Linked DNA regions of Homo sapiens: regions 2, 3, 4, 5, 6 and 7 are each linked to region 1. The links are contacts of gene promoters, found by promoter capture Hi-C in blood cells and fetal thymus (Javierre and others, 2016). All regions are on one chromosome and are shown on one strand. The core of a region is centred on a gene start or on the middle of the fragment in contact, and the rest is flanking DNA. Distances in the headings are between cores, read along the strand shown. Region 1 holds the start of TCF12 (transcription factor 12). Region 2 overlaps MNS1 (meiosis specific nuclear structural 1). Region 3 has its middle 8.0 kb from the start of MNS1. Region 4 has its middle 24 kb from the start of MNS1. Region 5 overlaps LOC105370832 (a long non-coding RNA gene). Region 6 overlaps LOC105370832 (a long non-coding RNA gene). Region 7 overlaps TCF12 (transcription factor 12).

Region 1 (2,978 bases), core at 342-2,841:
ATCAAATGACCCCTCTGGCATTAAAGTTTTAAATGTGCAAGTCTAGACATTACATCAAAGTTCAGGTGTCCAACTTGGGGGAGCTGGACTCCAGCCCTGAGAACTACTGCTTAAGCAGAAAGCAGATGGAGTTCACGCTGCCTAGTCTCCACGTTGCTTCCCCTCACCCTTTATTTAAAAGAAACAAACAAACAAACAAACAAAAACCTCAGCAGAACCCCAAGATGCCATGGAAAGCTCTCATACCGCACTGAAGTCCAGTAGGTCGCTCAGCTCCTTGTCGGTCCCTATAGCGGCCATGCGTTGTTGCTGGGGATTCATCTTCGGCCACTTCTAGCAGGTCCTAGGGCAGAGGAAACGGGCTCAGCGAGAGACCACCGAGGCCCAAAGTGTGTGAGGGAACAGAGAGAGGTACTGGGGAAGATTACGCAAGAGCGCTGGGGGCGCCGGGATGACTTCCAGGACCCCGACTCGCTCCCACCGCGGCGCGAGCAAGGGGCGGGAGGGCTCAGTGCCCGCGCCGGGTCCCGGAATCCACGCGTTCCTCGCCGCGGCCCGAGATCGACGCGGCGGCTCCCGCAACTCGCCGCCTCTCCCCCAAGTTTCCGAGCCAGTCTCTGCCACCTCCTCGGCGCCCCCTGCTCCGCGCCGCCGCCGGGTGCTCCGCGCGCCGGGCCCGGCCGCGGCTGGGGTCTCGAGGAGCGGGGTGAGGGGCAATTCGGCGTCCAGCGAGCGGAGCGGCGGCGAGCGGAGATGCGAAGTGACTCACTCGCTCGGCAACAATAGAACTGACAAGTTGCAGGGAACGCGCCGCTCGCAGGCCCGCGTCTGCGGCCGCCGCCGCCCGGACGTCCCCGGCGGGCCCAGGAGGTCGGAAAGCACCCCCAGCTCATCCAAGGGGCGTTTTTAAACAGAAAACAGAAACCCCGACAACTAGTCTCGCTCTCGGCCGGCGTCCTCCTCCCCAGGCTCGGCCTCCTCCCACTTTTGCTGCCCTGCCCCGGACCTGCCGAACAATGAGCCTGGCTCCGCGGCCGAAGCCGCCCGATCTCCCGCGCGCCCCGGAGCCTGGGCGCCGGCCCGAGTCGGGCACCGAACGGGGCGCACAGGCCGAGCGCGCCGCCAGCGGGCCTGAGCGCCCGCGACTCGAGCCTCCGCCCCCACTCCGCTCCCCAACTTGGAGGGGACCCCGGGTTTCGCGCTGTACAAAGGGGCGCGGAGTTGAGGCGGGGGACGGGGGCGCCCCCACTCCGGCAGGGACGCGGCGGCGCCCCGCAGCCCCCAGCCCCGCCGCGCCGCCCCACTCCCGCTCGCTAGCCCGCAATTACCTGCCGCCCCGTCTCCGCATCCAACCACCCCGATTAAAGTTCACTTTGGCCGGGAGAACGGGCTTGGGCTTCCCCTTGCACCGCCCAGCGGCTCGGTTCACTTTGCCCCGCACGAGCTCTCGGGTCTGGGAGGGGGAGGCGGCTTTCGGGCCTGGCCGCCCCTTCCTCCCGGGGCGGGCTGTCGGTCCCCCCGAATAGAACTTGTGGGTCTCTTCAGGCGGACATTTTTTTCGCTGAGGCGGCCTCACCACCGCGCTCGGCTCGCCTCCGGATCCCTCCGCGCCGGGAAGAGCCGCGGGTTAACCCTTCCCTCCCCGACCCGCTCCGCCGCCTAGGAAGTGGGGCCGGCAGAGGGGGCGGGGAGGAGCTGTCGGGGACTGGGAGGAGCCGCACCGCGGCGGGTGGACAAAGCCCGCGGTCGGGTGAGGCGGGACGGAGTTGGGGCCGGTGGGGAGGGGCATGAGGCGCTCGCAGGCACCTCGAGAAGCAGGCCCCGACCGCTCGCCGACGAAGCCTCGTCCGGGCCTCCTGGGAGCGGGGTGGCAGGTACCGTGGCGCCTCCTCGCGTTGGTCTTGCTGGTTCTCGGCCCCCGAAGCGGAGCGACGGAGACACAGCTGTGGAAGCATCTGGATCCGCTGCCCAGGTCCCCGAGCTTCCCGGAACCCGAGGCCGCAGGACACTGAAGGCTGCCATTCCCGAGTAGGTCACGCTGGACGCCACCCTAAGCTGGGCCCAGAGGCTCCCGTCCAGGAGGGCTGCAGTCGGCGCAGACACCGCGCGTGTGGAGACGGGAGACCCATCCTCCTCGGCCGTTCCGAGAGTAGGCGCGGCCGGTCAGATTCGATGCAGAGCCGAATGCGGGAGAAAGGGCAAAACGTACCTCAAACCAGACAAAGCCTTGTGAGCTTCAGGTTCTCAAATACCCCACTCACCCAGACCCCACATCTCCAGTCAGCCCCTCGCACCCAAATCCCATTCGGAGCAACCGAACTGCACGTGGGACTAGTTCTTGGGAATGGATCAAGCCAGTCTCTTCATCTAACGGAGACAGCCCTGGGTGGCTCTGTCACACAGCCACTGTCTTGTGCACAAGTTCTGAACTTGGCCTCAGAGAAGCCCCAGAGTAGAAAGAAGACAAAATAAGCCCCAGTTCTTCGATTCTGGGCTGAAGTGAGATTTTCTTGAATGGCAGCCATTGTTTTGCCTCTTAGGTAAGTGAGTGCAGTAAAGACCGGTAAGGCCCACGCAGAAGAAACACTGAGGAAAGAAGACACTTCCAAAGTAACAAATGGGAGGAAGCAGCCAACGCCCGAGGACAACATGGCAAGAAGGAGCCTTTGGATTCCGGACTGGGATGGAAAGAGAGGTAGATTCAGCTACCATATGCCATTACTGTAGTTAGTACAGTTGTCTCTATATCCGTGGGATTGGTTCCCAGACTCTGGATTTTCTAAGATGTTCAAGTCTCTTACATAAAAATGGTGTGTTTCCCCATATACTTTAAATCATATCTAGATTACTTATAAAACCTAATACAATGCAAATGCTATGTGAATAGTTGTTAAGGTGTATTTAGGAAATAATCATCCAAAGAAATCTCTATATTTTCAGTACATTTTCAGGCTATATTTTAGGCTCTATATTTTCAT
Region 2 (2,978 bases), core at 226-2,725, 470 kb after region 1:
AAAAATTTTTTCAAACTAAAAGTCATTCAGTTGAGTACTCTTTCACAGAGTATGCCTCCTCTCAGCAGTGTCAGAATTGCTAAGAGTGTTTTTATTTTGTGCACAAGCCATATTAAAATTTTCACTGTCATGCAGAAATGGACTGTATTTCAAATTGGCATGTCTAAATTCAGGGAACTGCTCTGGTGCTTAAAATGTGTCCTAATTTATTTAAAATCACCTATATTAAGATTTAGCTTTTTTAATGTAAAAGAAATTAATTTTTTAAATGCACGGCACATTTAAAAAATCATTGAAGTTTATTTTGAAAATATTTCTTTGAGCTCAGAAATCATGACTCCTGTTAATTGATTTTGGAACACATGGTTTTGTAATCCAAGAAAGTACTTAAAAGATAATTTAACTTTGCTGCTGTTTTTAACTGGAGTTGGGAAACTCACTGTTTATTTTTAGAAATCCTATTTTAAATTATGGCACTAAACAATTAGTAGTTATAATTAATTGCCCAATTAACTAAATGTATTTATTACACAGTTAACACATACTGTTATGAAAGCAAAAGCAAGTACCTCATATCTCATTTATATTTAAGTTCAGCAAAAACCATTTCAAAGAAAAGACAGAGACAGTTTTTCCTTCTTAATACTATTACCATTACCTAGCTTATACCAGTATAATTATGTTCTGGACTGATAATCAAGCTGTTAATTCATAAAATAGATGAGATAGATTAAAAGAGCACAAAATAACATTTTCTGAGAAACAAAAACAGAAGATTGATCACCAATAATCCTGCATTAAAGGGAATACTAGCAGTTCTTCATTAGGTATTAATAGAAGAAGAAAAATGATCCCAAGCTTAATTTCAGAACTGCAAGAGGTACATGTATAGTAAATTTAGTTGATATTTGAATGTATAAAATATTTATTATGTCTTTTGGGAATTAAAATATGTAAAGAGTTAAAAATATGACAAAATGAGATAGGAAGTAAATGAAGTTAAAGTCAAGAATCTTGCATTGTCAAATAATAATGAATAAATTTATTCACCTGGAAACAAAGAAACATGCTGTAATATCTGTAATAAAAATTTGGAAAAGAAAATATAACTGACTAATAGAGAATAAAATACGATAATAGGAATTGATTATTCCAAAAAACTCATGTAAAAAAGAGTTAACATAGCAGGCTTGAGGCTATCTTAGAAAGTCCTCCTTGCAAGTTTGGTCTTTGGCTGGTTTCTGGAAACTAGGCTTTTGAGAAGGTTCTTACCACCTTAACTGCTGAGGATGATTCACTGTGGCTAAAATGTGAAAACAATATGGATTAGGCCGGGTGCGGTGGCTCATGCCTGTAATCCCAGCACTTTGGGAGGCCGAGGTGAGTGGATCGCAGGGTCAGGAGATCGAGACCATCCTGGCTAACACGGTGAAACCGCGTCTCTACTAAAAATACAAAAAATTAGCCGGGCCTGGTGGCACACGCCTGTAGTCCCAGCTACTTGGGAGGCTGAGGCAGGATAATCGCTTGAACCTGGGAGGCGGAGCTTGCAGTGAGCCAAGATCGCGCCACTGCACTCCAGCCTGGGCGACAGAGAGAGACTCTGTCTCAAAAAAAAAAAAAAGAAAAAAAGAAAACAAAACAATATGGATTATACTGAATACCCATTTTCTTTCTGGGAGTCTGGAATATTGGTACGTTCTAAGTAGAGGGTGCCTAAGTTACCACCCCCAATAAGAACCCAGAGCACTGAGTTCTGATGAGCTCTAATGTTGTCTGCCAGGCATTTCACACGTCACAACTCATTGCTCGGGGAATTAAGCGTGTCCTGTGTGTTTCCACAGGTAGAGGCCTTTTGCACCTAGTTTTCTCTGAATTTCACCCATGTGCCTTTTTCCTTTGCCAATTTTGCTGTGTTTCGTTTCTTTATAGTAAGTCATAGCCGTGAGTATAACTATATGCTGAGTCCTGTATCCTCCTAGTGAATCATCTAACCTGATGGTGGTCTTGGGAACCCCCAACACAGAAGCAAACAGGAGAGAAGAGAGAACATAGGACAGGGAAGACAAGTAGAAAGAAGATATAAGCTTGTAAATGGAAACCCAATTATATTAGTAGTTATAGTAAACATATTTGAACCATTTGCCAAAATTGATGAAATGTTGTATCAGAATAAAAATATCAACAGATTTTCAGAGGAATCAATTTATACATAGTATTTTCTCTGTCCATAGTGGAATTAAACTAGACGTAAGTAATAAAAAAAAATCTAGGCAATCTTTATATGCTTAGGTATTTAAAAATGTGCTTCACATTACCCTTTGGTCAAAAAGTACAGATGCTCCTTGATGTACGATGGGTTCATGTCCCAATAAACTACATTTTCAATTTACGACAGGTTTATTGGGATGCATCCCATCATGAATTGAGGAACCTACTGTGAATGCATATGGTTTTCTCACCATTGTAAAGTCAAACCATCATTAATCAGAGACTGTCTATAATCAAAATTGAAATTAGAAAGTATTTTTAACTGAATAATAATGAAAATACCACATACTAAAAGTTGCAGGATTGGACTGATATTAGCAAAATAGCAGAGTAGGCAGCTCCCAGCTCCTGTCTCTCCTCCCAGCCCATCCCCCGACTACAAACATCAGAAAACAAGCAGAAACTCTCAGAACCAATTTTATAAGAAATTTGGGTAGCATTCAAAGGTTTATTGCAATCAAGCAAATGCTGAAACAAGAAAAAGCCTAAAAATGGTAGTAAAGTTCTGTGGTATCTTCACTTGCCCTTTCCTCATTCCCTCCTAGCTCAGAGGCAGGTAGCCCTTGTTCCCAATGCAGGACCCTGGTCCCTGGTTCAGGAGGAGCAGAGCAGATCTTATTCACAAATTGTTGGGTATATCTGTTCTAACCTACCTTGGGACTACGTGAAAAACTAACACAAGGCACTTATCTGTTTTACCTCACTCA
Region 3 (2,978 bases), core at 209-2,708, 450 kb after region 1:
TTTTAGAGAAAGTAAAAATATAAGTCATAGCTTGTCAAAGACAAAGTAGATGTACATGTACTACAGTGGAATATTCTCACAAACATGGTGTCTAAAGAGATTTGCAGAAATATGACTCCATCTTATTACAGCATGCAAAATAGTATCACATATCTCTTACAAGTTGAAAGTATAAAGGCATGCACAAGAATGATAAACACTATTAAATACAGTACAATGTTATCTCTGGGTGGAAGAAATGAGACAGGAGAGGTGCTCTGATGCACAGAGCCAGGTTCCACATTTTTTCTTGTGTCAGATTATGGATACATGGGTGTTTATATTATTCTTCTCACCTTTCTGTATGTCAGAGATATTATTGGTGCAAATAAACATGACACAGAAGTAGAAACTGGATATTGGAAATCAAAGTTCAATAAACTAGAACTTTTGAGATTTAATTTTTAAATCTAAAGTAGATATGAACTATAATATTTAAGAGAAACATAGAAAATATCAGTACTGCTTAAATACATAAGCATTAAAAGGAGTGCATGGGCTGGGCATGGTGGCTCATGCCTGTAATCCCAGCACTTTGGGAGGCCAAGGCAGGCAGATCACTTGTCGTAAGGAGGTCGTGACCAGCCTGGCCAACATGGTGAAACCACATCTCTACCAAAAAACACAAAAATTAGCTGGGCATGGTGGCAGGTGCCTGTAGTCCCAGCTACTCGGGAGGCTGAGGCAGGAGAATCACTTGACCTGGGAGGTGGAGGTTGCAGTGAGCCTAGATCACGCCACTGCACTCCAGCCTGGGCAACAACTCCATCTCAAAAAAAAAAAGAAAAAAAAAAGGGAGGATATGATGAGATACTTCTCTATTAACTGGAAATCCAAACTGATTTTTTTTTACTAAAAAATTTGCTAGAAAATAAACCAACATGTCTTTCTATTAATAATTCAATGTTGACCCAAGTACAGGTAAAGGCAAGGGAAGGGAAGGCAGGCAGAAAGCCAAAGAAAAATAAAGAGAACATAATGGAATTAGATAAAGTAGACGTGGGCAGAATTAAATTCCCTGATCACAGATATCCTTGAGAATTTCAGAAATTGGTGAAGAACTTCCTAAAACCACTGTCATTTCATAAAACTCTAGCAGAGTGCCTGCTGAGGTTCTGAATACTAGGGGGGAGGGGGGCGGTGGGGGGAAGTCAGTACAACTTTTTTTAAATAGAAAAGAATGGTTTAAGTATTACAATGTGTCTATCAGGTCAAATTTCTTGGCCTGAAAGCTTTTGAACCTTTTGTGAAAGCATTAATTTGCAATCTTAAAAAATAATGTTGGACTTAAAATCAACATGAGTTGGTGAAGATTAAAATCTGTCAGTTTAATCTAATTTTCTTCTATGACAGGTCTGTTAAAGGGCAGCGACAGTGTAATTAATTGCTTGAGGCTCAGAAACCCAATTAATCTCTAAGTTGACTTTTATTTCACAGAATGTTAGTGCTACATGAGGCCTCAAGGATATTCTACCCTATCCTCTTCATTTTATAGAAGAGGAAATAGACATCAGGGAGGTTAAATGACTTGTTCAAGGTCAAAGATACTGTCTATTCTTGCCACCGTACCCTATAAATTGATTCAGTATTGCATCCTTAAAGCTTGTATGAGTTTCTGTGTTTCTGATCATGACATACTATTTGAACACAGATGGTTCTTTTGTTATAGTCTTTTATAAAATACCTGGACATTCATCTCACGAATGTTTTCTTGTAAGGGTTTTCAAGCCTCAGTTTTTAAAATTTGAAACATTTTCCATACTCTTTATGCAGTAACAGTTGTAAAAAGGGAGTGGGGAAGAACTGTGTCCTAATTTGCATACTTAGCAGGCGAACTCTGGGAAGGAGATGCAGTAGGTGTTTTGCCTTAAGTGGGATGTTGGGAAACAGGGATTGCAGTTTGACCGTGTGAGTGATGTCTAATCCAGGTGGTACTTGCAGGCCATGCCATCCCTCAAGGATTCTATGTGTCTGATTCCAAGATGTGGGCAGAAAATCTAGCATGTAGAGTATTTTTAGAGAAGAGCTCAGTGAGGCAGCAATAATAACAAATATGATGTATGAGAAGATCAGAGGAAATGAGAGCCACTATCAGTGTGGGAAGCATGGTGGTATGCCATATGTCAGTGTGGCAGCCATGGAAGTGCCCTGCTCAGAATTGTCCTTAGGGGAACCTGCTGCAAGGAAGGTGCTCCTCCCTGAACCTCCAGATGCTACACATTCAGATTTGCTGCTGCGTCCATGCTGAGACCATGCTATCCCCTAAGTACTCCTGGCCAATGCCAGGATATGAGAGCCAGGGCTTTTGACACAACATGGGACATATCTAATGGGAAGTCTTTGCTTGGAGACTTCCCATTAGCCTGGTAGAAACTCTCTCAGAATTGTGCTGCTGCTTGAGGCTCCTTTTTCTTTTCCTCTCTGCTTTTATGAGTTAGATCTATATTATGGTCTCTTTTTCCCCTCCCTCTTTAGCTTTCTTAGGACTTTCTCCAAATAAACCTCTTGACCATCCAATTCCATCCCAGCATTTGCAACTCAGAGGACGCTAACTGATGCAGAGTGTGGCGATTGCCCTGGTCGATGCCAAGGAGGGATAAAAATATACATAACTTGAGTAGGAATTAGGATCTTATTCTGCTGGTGGGGACTGATTAGCAATGGTTTCTCTTTGGTTGTTGTAGTTACCATTATCGCAGTTCCTCATTTATGCTCTCTCATGATGGCACGGCATTAGGATAAATGCATTGTAGTAAAATTTACTTCCAGAGAGAAAAAAAATCCATGTTTTCACAGATTCTAAGACTTTTTTTTTTTGCATTTTAACCTTTCTGAAATTGGGATATCTTTAAATAGATTATTTGCTACAATTTAATTAGTAGGATTGTTTTCTTCTTTACTGATGAATAAAATAATGGTGCATATCATTGATGATGTCA
Region 4 (2,978 bases), core at 265-2,764, 430 kb after region 1:
GTAGAAATGTTTGTATGTTAAGAAAGCTTCTCCTTTCACAAAATAAGAAACAGATCCGAGAATCACTGCTCTGTTCATTCCACGAGTGTCTGTCAAGTGAAACTTCCAAGTCACTATGCTGGGTACCATGGAGGAGACGGAGACATTCAGGAGATAAGCCCAAATCTCATGGACCTTTCAATGAGGCATGAAAAAAAGGACAGGTGCACCAATCATCAAAGATAGAAACCCCTAAGGAAGGTAAAAGTAAAGCCTGAGGGATCTCAGGTGAGGGAGGTAATGAGTCAGCTGAGGGACTCAGCATGGTGTTATGGAGAAGGTGGACCTTGACCTTGGCTTTGAAGGATGTGTAATATTTGATTATGTGGAATAAGGGGAAAGTGTGGTGGTGTGAAAGCACATCCAGGGAGGGTACTGTAAAGGGAGAATATCAGAAACTAAGACATGAGTGCCTTAGGGTCAAACTACAGAAGGTCTTTTTATTTTATTTTTATTTAAGAGAAGATCTCACTCTGTTGCCCAGGCTGGAGTGCAGTGGTGTGATCATGGCTCACTGCAGCCTCAAACTCCCTGGGCTCAGGTGACCCTTCCACCTCAGCCTCCTGAGTAGCTGGGACTACAGGTGCACACCACCATGACAGGCTAATTTTTGTATTTGTTGCAGAGATGAAGTGTCACCATGTTGCCCAGGCTGTTCTCAAACTCCTGGGCTCAAGCAATTCTCCCGCCTCAGCTTCTCATTTACTTTAGTTTCTTAAGAGACAGGGTCTTGCTGTGTCACCCAGGCTGGAGTGCAGTACCATGATCGTGGGTCACTGGAGTCTTGACTCCTGGGCTCAAGCAATCCTCCAACCTCAGCCTCCCGAGTAGCTGGGACCACAGGAGCATGCCACAATGCCCAGCTAGTTTTTATTTTATTTTATTGTAGAGACAAGGTCTCACTGTGTTGTCCAGGCAGGTCTCAAACTCTTGGGCTCAAGCGATCCTCCCACCTTGGCCTCTCAAAGTACTGAGATTATGGGTGTGAACCACCATGCCTGGCCTACAGAAGGTCTTGAATGGCAATGAAGAAGCTTGTATTCTGTTGAGCAGGAAGCGGGACTGGAGGAAGAAATTGTAAAAATTCCAGCTTCTTGAATATGTATTTGGCTCCTTTTAAAAAAATGGATTCTCCATCCAGCTGTCCATTTATCATTTATAGAGAGATTAATATAGGAGATTCTGGTGGGGACTAGATATCTGCTAAGTTTACTTCTTAATCGATATTACATGATTGGGATTTTTGAGCCATAAATTGACCCTACATTATAGGAGGGAAGACCTTGCATTTTTTTTGTACTTAGTAGGTGCTCAATGAAGGCTTCCTCAATTAACAGATTACATGAACAGGGTTGTGTTTCAGAAAGAGGAATTTGGCAGCAAGGTTTAAACTAGATTGGCAAGAAGGGAGAGACTGGATACAGGAAGGCTGCTTAGGACATTATTACTCATTTTCAAGGCCTAAACTAGGTGAGTGGAAATAAGAGTTGAACGAAGAGTAACATTGGGGAAGTAGAATCAAGATTGCTATTTTGTTGTGATTATTTGTGACCCTCTTCCTCAATGAATTGACAGTTTCATGAGAGCAAGAACTCTAACTTATTTGGCATTGTATCCCCACTACCTAACAATAACTAGCACATGTATGTGCTGAGTATGTATTCAATGAGCTGTGGAATAAATGTTGACTGGCTTTTGGAATAAGTAATTGAGATAGTGTTATTTGAGGGGCATTGGCCATCCAAGCCCCGGGACAAGGAGCAGCCAGAGATGCTGGATGTGAGCCTAGCATTTGAGTGACCCTGGCCCAGGGCAGAAGGGACACAGCACACAGCAGCAATCTCTGCCTTCTCACTATCCACTCCCTTTAGCCTGTGCTGGGCAGGCCTTCACCCCTACATCCTATAAAAGCTTTTCACATTTGAGTCACCCACACCCTCATGTCCTTCTCCCCTCTCTCTCTCTCTCTCTCTCTCATTTTACTTAATGTCTCATTAGCATTTGACACAGTTGATCATGCCATTCTTGGAACAGTCTCTTCACTTAACTTCCAGGATACTACTGTCCTGGTTTTCTTCCTACCTTGCTGATGGCTCTTTTCATTCTAGTAATTCTGGCTTAGCTTTCTCTTCCCATTTTTTTAAGAGATGGGGTCTTGCTCTGTCACTTAGGCTGGAGTGTAAGGTATGAACATAGCTCACTGTAGCCTTGACCTCCTGGGCTTACGTGATTCTCCCCTCAGCCTGTCAAACAGCTACAATTAACAGTTTTTAATCAGTGGTTTCCACCTTAGCTGCACGTTAGAATCACTGAGGAGTTTTAAAATTTCTTGATACTCAAACTGAACCCCAGACCAATTAAATCAGATATGTGAAGGATGGGTAGAGGTTCAACATTTAAAAAAAAATCTTCTGGTAATTTCAATGGGCATGGAGTGTTGTAAACCACTTCTGTAAATATTGAAGTTCCTCAGGGCTCAGTCCTTGATCTCTTATACCCTTGATCTCCTTGATATCCCTAGTCCCATGGGTTCCAAAAGCATCTTTATCAGTTGATGTGTAGATCTATACTTCTAGCCCCAGCTTCTCTTCTGAACTATAGATTTATATACACAAGTGTCCTATTTAAGATCTTCAGTAGGATGTAGACATCTCAGATTTAACACGTCCAAACACAAGTCTTTATTTTTCCCTGGCCTCCAAGTCTACTCCTCCAGTGTTCTCCATCCCAACTGATGGTACCATCATTCATTCAGTTATGCCAGGAAGGACACCTGGGAGATATATTTGAGTCATCTCTTTGTCATTCCTTACACCTAATCCATTGCCAAGTCCTGTTGGTTTTATTTCTAAAATTCATTCTGAACCCAATCAGTTCCCATAACCTCTACAGAGCACCACTATGCTCAACCTTACCTGCTCTATAACTCTACCTTTCCA
Region 5 (2,978 bases), core at 236-2,735, 400 kb after region 1:
ATGGGCTTTGTTTTTAATTCTCTTTATGTGGTGAATCAAATGTATTGATTTGAGTATGTTGAACCAAACTTGCATACCATGAATTAAGCCTACTTGATTATGGTGAATTACCTTTTTAATGTGCTGTTTGATTGATTTGCTAATATTTTGTTGAGGACTACTAGGTTCCTCAACATAGGTTGCATCTATGTCCATCAGGGATACTAGCCTGTAGTTTTCTTTTTTCATTGTGTCTTTGCTAGGTTTTGGTATCAGGGTGATGCTAGCTTTGTAGAATAAGTTAGGGAGGAGTCCCTTCTCCTTGATTTATTGGAATAGTTTCAGTAGAATTGATACCAGTTCTCTGTACATCTGGTAGAATTGGATATGAATCCCTCTGGCCCAGGGCTTTTTTTGGTTGGCAATTTTTTTTTATGATGGATTCAATTTTGGAACCCTATATCGATCTGTTTGCAGTTTCAGTTTCTTCCTGATTCAATCTTGGCAGGTTGTGTGTTTCCGTTTCCTCTAGATTTTCTAGTTTATGTGCATAGAAGTGTTAATAATAGTCTCTGGGATCTTTTGCATTTCTGTGGGATTGGTTGTAATGTCACCTTTGTTGTTTCTGATTGTGCTTATTTGGATCTTCTCTCTTTTTTCTTTGTTAATCTAGCTAGCATTCTATTGATCTCGTTTATCCTTTCAAAAGACAAACTCTTAGTTTTGTTAATTCTTTGGATGAATTTTTGGATATCAATTTCCTTCAGTTCTGCTCTGATTATAGCTTTTTAAAAAAATTTTCTGCTAGCTTTGGGCTTAGTTTGCTCCAGTTTTTCTAGTTCCTCTAGATGTGATGTTAGATTGTTAATGTGAGATCTAACTTCTTTATGTAGGTGTTTAGTGTGAAAAGCTTTCCTCTTAACACTGCTTTTGCTACATGCCAGAGATTCTGATATGTTGTGTCTCTGTTTTCAGTTACTTAAAAGGATTTCTATTTTTGCCTTAATGTTGTTGTTTACCCAAAAGTCATTCAGGAGCAAGTTGTTTAATTTCCATTTAATTGTGTGGTTTTTGAGGGATCTTCTTGGTATTTATTTCTATTTTTATTCCACTGTGGTCCAAGGTAAGTTGGTATGATTTCAATTTTTAAAAATGTGTTGAGACTTGGTTTATGACCAAGCATGTGGTTGATCTTAAATTATGTTCCACATACAGATAAGAATGTATATTCTATGGTTGATGGGTGAAGTAGTCTGTAGATGTCTATTAGGTACAATTGGCCAAATTGATTTAAGTCCAGAATTTCTTTGTTAATTTTATGTCTTGATGATCTAACACTTTGAGTGGGATGTTGAAGTCCCTCACTATTAATGTGTGGATATCTAAGTTTTTTCATAGGTCTAGAAGTACTTGTTTTATGAATCTGAGTACTCCAATATTAAGTGCATATATATTTAGGATAATTAAATCTTTTTGTTGAATTAAACCTTTTATCACTGTGTAATGCCTTTCTTTGTCCTTTTTTACTGTTGTTGATTTCAAGTCTATCTGATACAAGAATAGCAAACCATGTTCTTTTTTTTTCCTGTTTGTTGTAATAGATCTTTCTCCAATCCTTTCCTCTGTGCCCATGGATATCATTAAGTGTAAGATGGGCCTTTTGAAGATAGAAGATGGATGGATCTTGCTTTCTTTTTTAATTTAACTTGCCACTGTGTGCCTTTCTGATGGGGCAGTTAGACCATTTACATTCAAAGTTAGCATTGCTATGTGAGGTTTTCATCCTATTGTGAAGTTGTTAGCTGGTTGCTTTGCAGTATCTATTGTGTAGTTGCTTTATAGGGTTTGTGGACTATGTACTTAAGTGTGTTTTTGTGGTAGCAGATACAGTTCTTTAGTTTCCATGTTTAAAACCTTGAGGATCTCTTGTTAGGGTGGTCTAGTGGTAAAAATTTACCTTAGTAGCTGCTAGTCTGGAAAAGATTTTATTTTTCCTTTGTTTATGGAGCTTAGTTTGATGGGATATAAAATTCTTGGTTGGAATTTGTGTTCTTTAAGAATGCTGAGTAGGCCCCCAATCTCTTCTGACTTGTGTAAGCTTTCTTCTGCTAAGAAGTCTGTTGTTATCCTGATGAGGCTCCCTTTGTAGGTCATCTAACCTTTTTCTCTAGCTGCCCTTAGGATTTTTTCCTTAGTGTTGACTTGGGGCAGTCTTGTCACTTTATGCCTTGGTGATGATTGTTTTGTATAGTATCTTGCTGATATTATATGTATTTCTTGTACCTGGATGTCTACCCGTCTAGCAAGATTAGGGAAATTTTCTTGGATTATTCCCTCAAATAGGTTTTCCAGGTTGTTTACCTTTTCTCCTTCTCAGGAATGCCAATAATTTGTAGATTTTTTCACTTTATATAATCCTACCTTTCTCAAAGACTTGTTTATTTTTTAAAATTCTTATTTTTTTTTTCTGAATGGATTAGTTTGACAGATTGATCTTCAAGCTCTGAAATTTTTTCTTCTACTTGGTCTACTCTATTGATAAAGTTTTCAATTGTATTGAGAAATTCCTTATGTGAATTTTTTAAGTTCAGAAGCTCTGATTGATTTTTTAAAGATGTTTATCTCTTCCTTCATTTCCTGGATTGTTTAGAAGTTTCTTTGTGTAGATTTTCAACCTTGTCTTGAAATTTATCGAGCTTCCTTGATACCCATGCTGTGAATTCTTTATTTGTCATTTCTGAATTTCCATTTTGGTTAGTGACCATTGCTGGAGAGCTAGAAAGATCTCAAATTAACAAATAGTGTCACAGTATTCAGATTTTTTCATGGTGCCAGAATTTTTATGCTGGTTCCTTCTCATCTGGAGATGTTGGCACTTTTAAGTTTTGTAATTATTTTCATGTGGATAGAATCCTTTCCCTTTTCCTTTCCCTTCCCTTTTCCTTTTCCCTTTCCTTTCCTTTCCCCTTTCCTTTCCTTTCCCCTTTCCTTTCTCCTTT
Region 6 (2,978 bases), core at 271-2,770, 380 kb after region 1:
CAAAGTCAAGGGTGTTGTTCAGCTATAAATGGGCCTTTGTCTGTGTTCATCTCTATTACTCCTGCCAAGGACAGGGATTTTCCATGTGATTCTAAGAGGATTAAAATGGTAAAAAAGAGTGACTGTGACAAGCTGAGATGTGCCTTTAGGATAACCAAAGGTCAGAAAAGGATTAAGTAAATGACCCAGCTGGAGAAGGTAGAGAAACACCCTATCAAGGAGAACCTGACATTCTGAGGACAAGAGTGTTTGCTCGGGAAGAGCTAAGGAGAATGACACTCAGGGTGTGATCCGGGGAACAGCCTCAGATCAGAGAAGTGGAGTCTGGACTACGAAAACCGGAGGTTTTTCTGTGAGGAGAACCCAGGGAGGCTGCTGGCTGAGCTGGCGGGAATGTGGAGAAGAAAAGCAAAGACAAGAACCTGCTCCTGAGGTCTGGAGGTTGAGGAGAAAAGGAGTGTGGGTGAAGTAGTAATCTCAGAGACTGAGGCTAAGAGGAGAAGTCTCTGGACTGAATAAAGGCACCGCCACTAGAGAAGAACCAGAAGGTCCCAGAGTGCGTTATATCAAAATACCGGGGAATTGTTCTTAACATTTGCTTCAACTGTGTAACTGTATAATGCACACACCTCAACTTCCCCGTTCTATAGGAAGTGATACTTGCGTATCAACACTACAGTGCACCCTGTTGGGAAAAGAAGCATTGTTGGTGACCAGTAAATGAGGAAAGGAAGGATACTAACTTCAGTAGAGGGAATGCTGTTTCACAAAATACAGCTAAGAATGTTATGCATGCAATGTTGTCTTTTAATTTTCACAGTAACCCTCTGCAGTCAGTAATATTATCCCTGCTTCACAGACCTGAAGAGAAAAGAGTTTACTAATGTGGTCAAGATGCTCAGCAAGCTTAAGTCTGGTTTGAGCCGAAGCCCTCACTTCCCACCTTACCATGCCCGTGAGCACTCTCTGATCTGACTTGGAAATGAAGAGTTAAATTTAGGTGAGTCAAAATAGATCATTCAAGTGGAGAATAACCTGGCATCCTTATTTCTAAAATGCATGATAAACTTTCAGTATTTTACCTAATTTCCTGAAGATTCCAAAGAGATACTTAATTCTCAAGACCCCAAAAAGCCAGAAGCATTCCATTCTCCAAATGAAAAAATTGCATGTAATATTTTTTAAATGGAGCATCATTATATTCATGCCATTAATGGAATTAGATATGCTCAGATACATAAGCAGTATGCACAGTGTCCACATAATGTCTCAGACACACTAATCTGAGAGGTTGAGGAAATCAAATATTGTTAAATATTATTTAGAGATGTACAAAGGTAGCTCTCGGAGAGGAAGCCATCAGTAGGTTTATAACAAGTCCATGTTTTTCTTTTCTATTTTTGTATTAGGGAATAGATGTTGATAATCAAGAAAGATTACTTGTTTCCAGGGTGAAGGGGGAGGGAAAAAGCAACCAATTACACTAAATCAGAAGTATCATTTTGGGGGGGGTGTAATAACTGATAGGATGATGAGTGTTTTATTTAAAGTTCCAACAAATAATTTTAAGGAGAATGTTTCATTAATTCATGTGGTCACTCAGTTTTCATTCTTTCCTTCCAGTGCCAGCACTGGTAAGTGTGAGAGAAAAATGAGTAGGACATGGTCCTTTCCTCACAGTGAGGGCAATAGATACACATGAGCTAACTACAGTGAAATATGATAGGCTTTGCAAGGACAGATGAGCAAAAGGCTGTGGGAGCCAGAAGAAGGGAAGCATCTATTGCACCAAGACCTGTGTGACTGTTAAAGCTCCCCAAAGGCAGAAGCCAGGCCCCAGCCCCTGGAGTGACTGCCAACATAGCAGCTGCGGAGCCGCGGTTACACCATTGTAGCAACAGCCAGAAAGCAAGATGAAGCCAGGCCCGGCAGCCTCATGGTTGTGGTTAACAGGTGTTGAAGCAAGTGTGAAGGAAGTGTGAGATCAAACCACAGCTGGGTTTGGAGAGATAAACCTCTCTTAAATGCATAAAGAAATAACCTAAGCAGGCAATGTTGTCACTTCACTGAAGTTTAAGTTTGTCTTCAAATTTATCAGGATCCCAAGGTTTTTCCCATGGTTTTTCTAAGCTTTGACACTTACCTGGGTTACAGCTCTAATTTGGAAAAGGACAGAAATGTTGAGAATCAAATGCCTGGAAGTGAAAGATGAACTTCTGCAAGAAAGTGGCTGGAGTATTCATTAGCACTTTGTTTGGAACTTTCTCACCTGCTAAGTCCTCATCTGCTTCTTCCCTTAAAAATTGCAATGCTTTATTCATTCATTCATTTGTTAATTAAGTATGTATGGAGCACCTACTGTGGACTAAACTTTGATGATTCATAGATGATTAAATGCCATCACTCCTCTCTGGGAGTTCATCTTAATGGGAAGGCAACACTCAATCCCAATATAAGGCAATAAATGTGTAAAACATATCCTGGAAACACGATGGAGGAACTGATTTACCTGCCCAAGAAAGATGTCATAGGAGAGAATATCTTTGAGCTTGGGTGTAAAAGATATGTAGGGATTTTCAAATAGGATGGCAAAGAGATTTTTTTTTAATTTAATTTTTATTTTGGAGAAAGGGTCTCACTCTAACATCTACATTGGAGTGCAGTGGCACAATCATGGCTCACTGCGGCCTTGACTTCCCAGGCTCAGATGATTCTCCCACCTCAGCCTCCCAAGTAGCTGGGACTACAGGCACATACCACGGCACCTTGGTAATTTTTTGTATTTTTTTTTTGGTAGAGATGGGGCTTTGCCATGTTGCCCAGGCTGGTCTCAAAGTTCTGAACTCAAGTGATTCGCCCGCCTTGGCCTCTCAAAATGCTAGGATTACAGGCATGAACCACCATGCCTGGCCCAGAGAGTTTTTAAAGAGAGAAAACAGCCTGAGCTAAGTCACGAACGCCCAGAATTGCATGGAGTA
Region 7 (2,978 bases), core at 1-2,500, 340 kb before region 1:
CTTCCACTACCAGTGGATCCTGGCTTGCCTCAAGTATTCCAATTACTTCAATAAAACTCTCAAACTACTCATTAACATAAGCCAAACGTTATAGGCTCCAAGAAAAAGAAAAACATGCTAACCCCATTATATCTGCTTAGGTGCCAATTTATAAGCAGGAATTCCCAAGGTCTGGCCTGTAGCCAAATCTTGACCTATGTTTTTGTAAATAAAGGAGCTTGTTTTTGTAAATAAAGTTTTATTGGAATACAGCCGTGCCCATCTGTTTTCATATTATCTATAGCTGCTTTCACATTACATTGTCAGAGTTAAGTAGTTGTGACAGAGACTATACAGCCTACAAAGCTGAAAATATTTACTCTCTGGCCCTTTATAGAAAAAGCATATCAAACCCTTTTCTAAATGCTAGGAGGAAGAGTGATATATTTAAACCCTACAATTAGGATGCTGCCCATTAGGATAAAGTTCCATTATAACAAAAATGTCATCTGAATGCTCTGTGGAGGTCCTGAAAATATCTACGTTTATCAGAATACTTCTATTCTCTGCAATAAACAAATGGAATAATGAAAGGCAAATGTCTTTGAAAGAAGCTGACCTCATGAATTCTATATGGTGGTACCAAATTGCTGATCAACAAGTATTTCTGTGATCACTTTGTAAGTCTGGCCATATAGCCTCCATTATTAGGAGCCCAAAACAAATACTAACTTATGTTAATTCCGGAAAAAATCGACAAACTTCTGGAAAGTTATAAGAGACCAAAAACAAGGTGGGGCGGGGTGGGGGTGGGGGTGGGGAATCGATTCCAGAATGTAAAACCACATTATTTCTTAGTCATGATTAGTTAGGAGGATGTATTGTTGTGACAAGGGGACAATAAAAGCTGGAGATTAACTCTTGGAGCCAGTTGGCAAGAGTTACAAAAACATGCCCCCAAAATCACACACTCTGAAAGAATATGAAGAGTTGATTCCATATAGGTGGGTGCTGAGCATGTAAATAAAGTGATCCCAGCAGTACTAATGGAAGCCCTCAGACACGGAAAAGAACCACCACGATAAGACAGTCTTCCTCAATAACATGCCTAAGACTCTGCGGGGATAGTCAGTGGCAGACTAATCTTCATTTCATTCCATCCTTTGGTCTTTTTGCTGAAGCTGAGAACTGAGGACTCAACAGCTAAAAGGCTTACTTCAGAAGGACAGGAGATGAATACTGACTCACCTAACAGTGTCAGATTTTGTCAGCTAGTAACTTTATATTTTGAGGCTAAGCCTGCCAGATACATCTTATCTCCACTACTAAAAGTACTAGTGATTGTGTCTGGATGAGATGAAGATAGCAGATGATTTCTGGCAGATTTTCCACAGCTCTGTACCCGCTGAGAAGGTGATAAGGACTGAAGAGAAGGCTGTGACAGACACACTGAACAACAGCTTGGGCTAGTTGCTGTGGCACTAATGTTGCAGCTCAGACTAAGCCAGACTCACTTCATGTCTCAGAAGACCATTTTTTCTAGACTAATTTGAGATTTTTTTTTTCTTTTTACGAATATCTCTGGCCGGGTGCAGTGGCTCACACCTGTAATCCCAGCACTTTGGGAGGCCGAGGTGGGCGGATCACAAGGTCAGGAGTTTGAGACCAGCCTGGCCAATATGGTGAAACCCCATCTCTACTAAAAACAGAAAAATTAGCCGGACGTGGTGGCGGGTGCCTATAATCCCAGCTATTCGGGAGGCTGAGGCAGGAGAATTGCTTAAATCTGGGAGGCAGAGATTGCAGTGAGCCGAGATCACGGCACTGCACTCCAGCCTGGGCCACAGAGTGAGACTCCATCTCTAAAAGCAAAACAAAACAAAAAACAACAACAAAAAAATACCTCTGGCAGACCTTCTGTTGTTGTTCTGAAGTGGGCAGTGCATTCCTTCAGCATATAGTAGGAGCTACTTTCTTAGTTATAAGTTTTAGGGTGCCATCCAATGAAAGAGTTTTTCCCTCTAACAGTCTTCTAAAATGCACTAGGTTTCTAGGTGGCTTTGGAGGACTACATTTTGATAAGTCTCCCTTTCTATTATGGAATATCTGAAATTGGTAAAAAAACAACTTTCTCAAGACAGAAGTTCCATTTTATGCAAACTCCAACTGGGAGGAGCCAGATATATAATAAATACTGTAGCTGATAAGTTGGAATAGGAGCAGTAAGCTAGTAAAAGTGAAGAATTAAAAAATCATTAAGAGGTAAGGAATAAGAACTGCAAATGTTGCTGCTGAGACTAACTTAAAATTCAAGAATATTGATTTTTAAGTCATGCTTCTAAATAAGGATAAATAGTATTTCAACAAATTATTAAGTTATTCTGCATTCACATTTGTAACAAATTCCTTTTATTATACCATTAAAATTATTTCATTACTATTACCAGCAGTGATAACAATACCCTCTCATATTTTTTTCTTTCTTTCTTTTTTTTTTTTTTTTTTTTGAGACAGGGTCATGCTCTATGGCCTAGGCTGGAGTGCAGTAGCATGAACATGGCTCACTGCAGCCTTGACCTCCTGGGATCAAGAGATCCTCCCACCTAAACCTTCCATGTAGCTGGGACCACAGGCGCATGCCACTGTGCCAGACTAATTTTTTTTTATTTTTTGTAGAGATGAGGGTCTCACTTTGTTGCCCAGACTAGTCTTGGAACTCCAACCAATCCTCCCGCCTTGGCCTCCCAAAGTGCTGAGATTACAGGTGTGAGCCATCTGACACTTCCCCATTTTACTAGTTTAATAACTTACATATGTTTTGACACTTATTAGCTTATCAATAGCAATAAAAAGTACTTTAAAAGGAGACTGATTTTCAAGATTTCCTGACATTAAAAAAACAAACACAAAACAGGTATCTAATGTTACCCATGCTGCTGAAAATACAGTTCTCAGAAAACAAGCAGCCTTGTGTGACGTTTACTTCAGAGGCTCAAAAA

The links. Contacts are between HindIII fragments. The CHiCAGO score rates a contact against its expected background, and 5 or more counts as called.
Region 2: a contact is called between a fragment that was not itself captured here and the fragment with the promoter of TCF12 in region 1, in 1 of 17 cell types (fetal thymus). The highest score is 7.5, in fetal thymus.
Region 3: a fragment that was not itself captured here is called in contact with the fragment with the promoter of TCF12 in region 1 in 1 of 17 cell types (fetal thymus); the score reaches 8.0 in fetal thymus.
Region 4: a fragment that was not itself captured here is called in contact with the fragment with the promoter of TCF12 in region 1 in 4 of 17 cell types (fetal thymus, endothelial precursors, M1 macrophages and 1 more); the score reaches 19.5 in fetal thymus.
Region 5: a contact is called between a fragment that was not itself captured here and the fragment with the promoter of TCF12 in region 1, in 1 of 17 cell types (fetal thymus). The highest score is 5.9, in fetal thymus.
Region 6: a fragment that was not itself captured here is called in contact with the fragment with the promoter of TCF12 in region 1 in 1 of 17 cell types (fetal thymus); the score reaches 11.9 in fetal thymus.
Region 7: a fragment that was not itself captured here is called in contact with the fragment with the promoter of TCF12 in region 1 in 2 of 17 cell types (naive CD8 T cells and non-activated CD4 T cells); the score reaches 6.3 in naive CD8 T cells.

The regions. Positions count from the first base shown.
Region 1 is chr15:56,917,257-56,920,234 of GRCh38, reverse strand. TCF12 (transcription factor 12) reads right to left here and starts at 1,591. Exons shown (of 21, transcript NM_207037.2): 1 at 1,329-1,591; 2 at 247-343. The coding sequence starts at 321. TCF12-DT (TCF12 divergent transcript) reads left to right here and starts at 1,736. Exons shown (of 4, transcript NR_015419.2): 1 at 1,736-2,695. RefSeq lists silencers at 552-991, 1,042-1,331, 1,422-1,471, 1,642-1,771, 2,292-2,431. The HindIII fragment of the contact is 11,533 bases long and covers 1-2,978 here.
Region 2 is chr15:56,451,169-56,454,146 of GRCh38, reverse strand. The region is part of intron 3 of MNS1 (meiosis specific nuclear structural 1); the gene reads left to right. It also overlaps a transcript of TEX9 not described here. Among named protein-coding and RNA genes, the nearest start is that of MNS1, 12 kb to the left of the region's middle. The HindIII fragment of the contact is 1,229 bases long and covers 861-2,089 here.
Region 3 is chr15:56,471,624-56,474,601 of GRCh38, reverse strand. No RefSeq gene overlaps it. Among named protein-coding and RNA genes, the nearest start is that of MNS1, 8.0 kb to the right of the region's middle. The HindIII fragment of the contact is 370 bases long and covers 1,274-1,643 here.
Region 4 is chr15:56,488,011-56,490,988 of GRCh38, reverse strand. It overlaps a transcript of LOC105370832 not described here. Among named protein-coding and RNA genes, the nearest start is that of MNS1, 24 kb to the right of the region's middle. The HindIII fragment of the contact is 877 bases long and covers 1,076-1,952 here.
Region 5 is chr15:56,519,181-56,522,158 of GRCh38, reverse strand. All of the region lies in intron 1 of LOC105370832 (a long non-coding RNA gene), which reads left to right. Among named protein-coding and RNA genes, the nearest start is that of MNS1, 56 kb to the right of the region's middle. The HindIII fragment of the contact is 1,188 bases long and covers 892-2,079 here.
Region 6 is chr15:56,536,988-56,539,965 of GRCh38, reverse strand. All of the region lies in intron 1 of LOC105370832 (a long non-coding RNA gene), which reads left to right. Among named protein-coding and RNA genes, the nearest start is that of MNS1, 73 kb to the right of the region's middle. The HindIII fragment of the contact is 1,224 bases long and covers 909-2,132 here.
Region 7 is chr15:57,254,366-57,257,343 of GRCh38, reverse strand. The region is part of intron 16 of TCF12 (transcription factor 12); the gene reads right to left. Among named protein-coding and RNA genes, the nearest start is that of SNORD13D, 23 kb to the left of the region's middle. The HindIII fragment of the contact is 4,849 bases long and covers 1-2,978 here.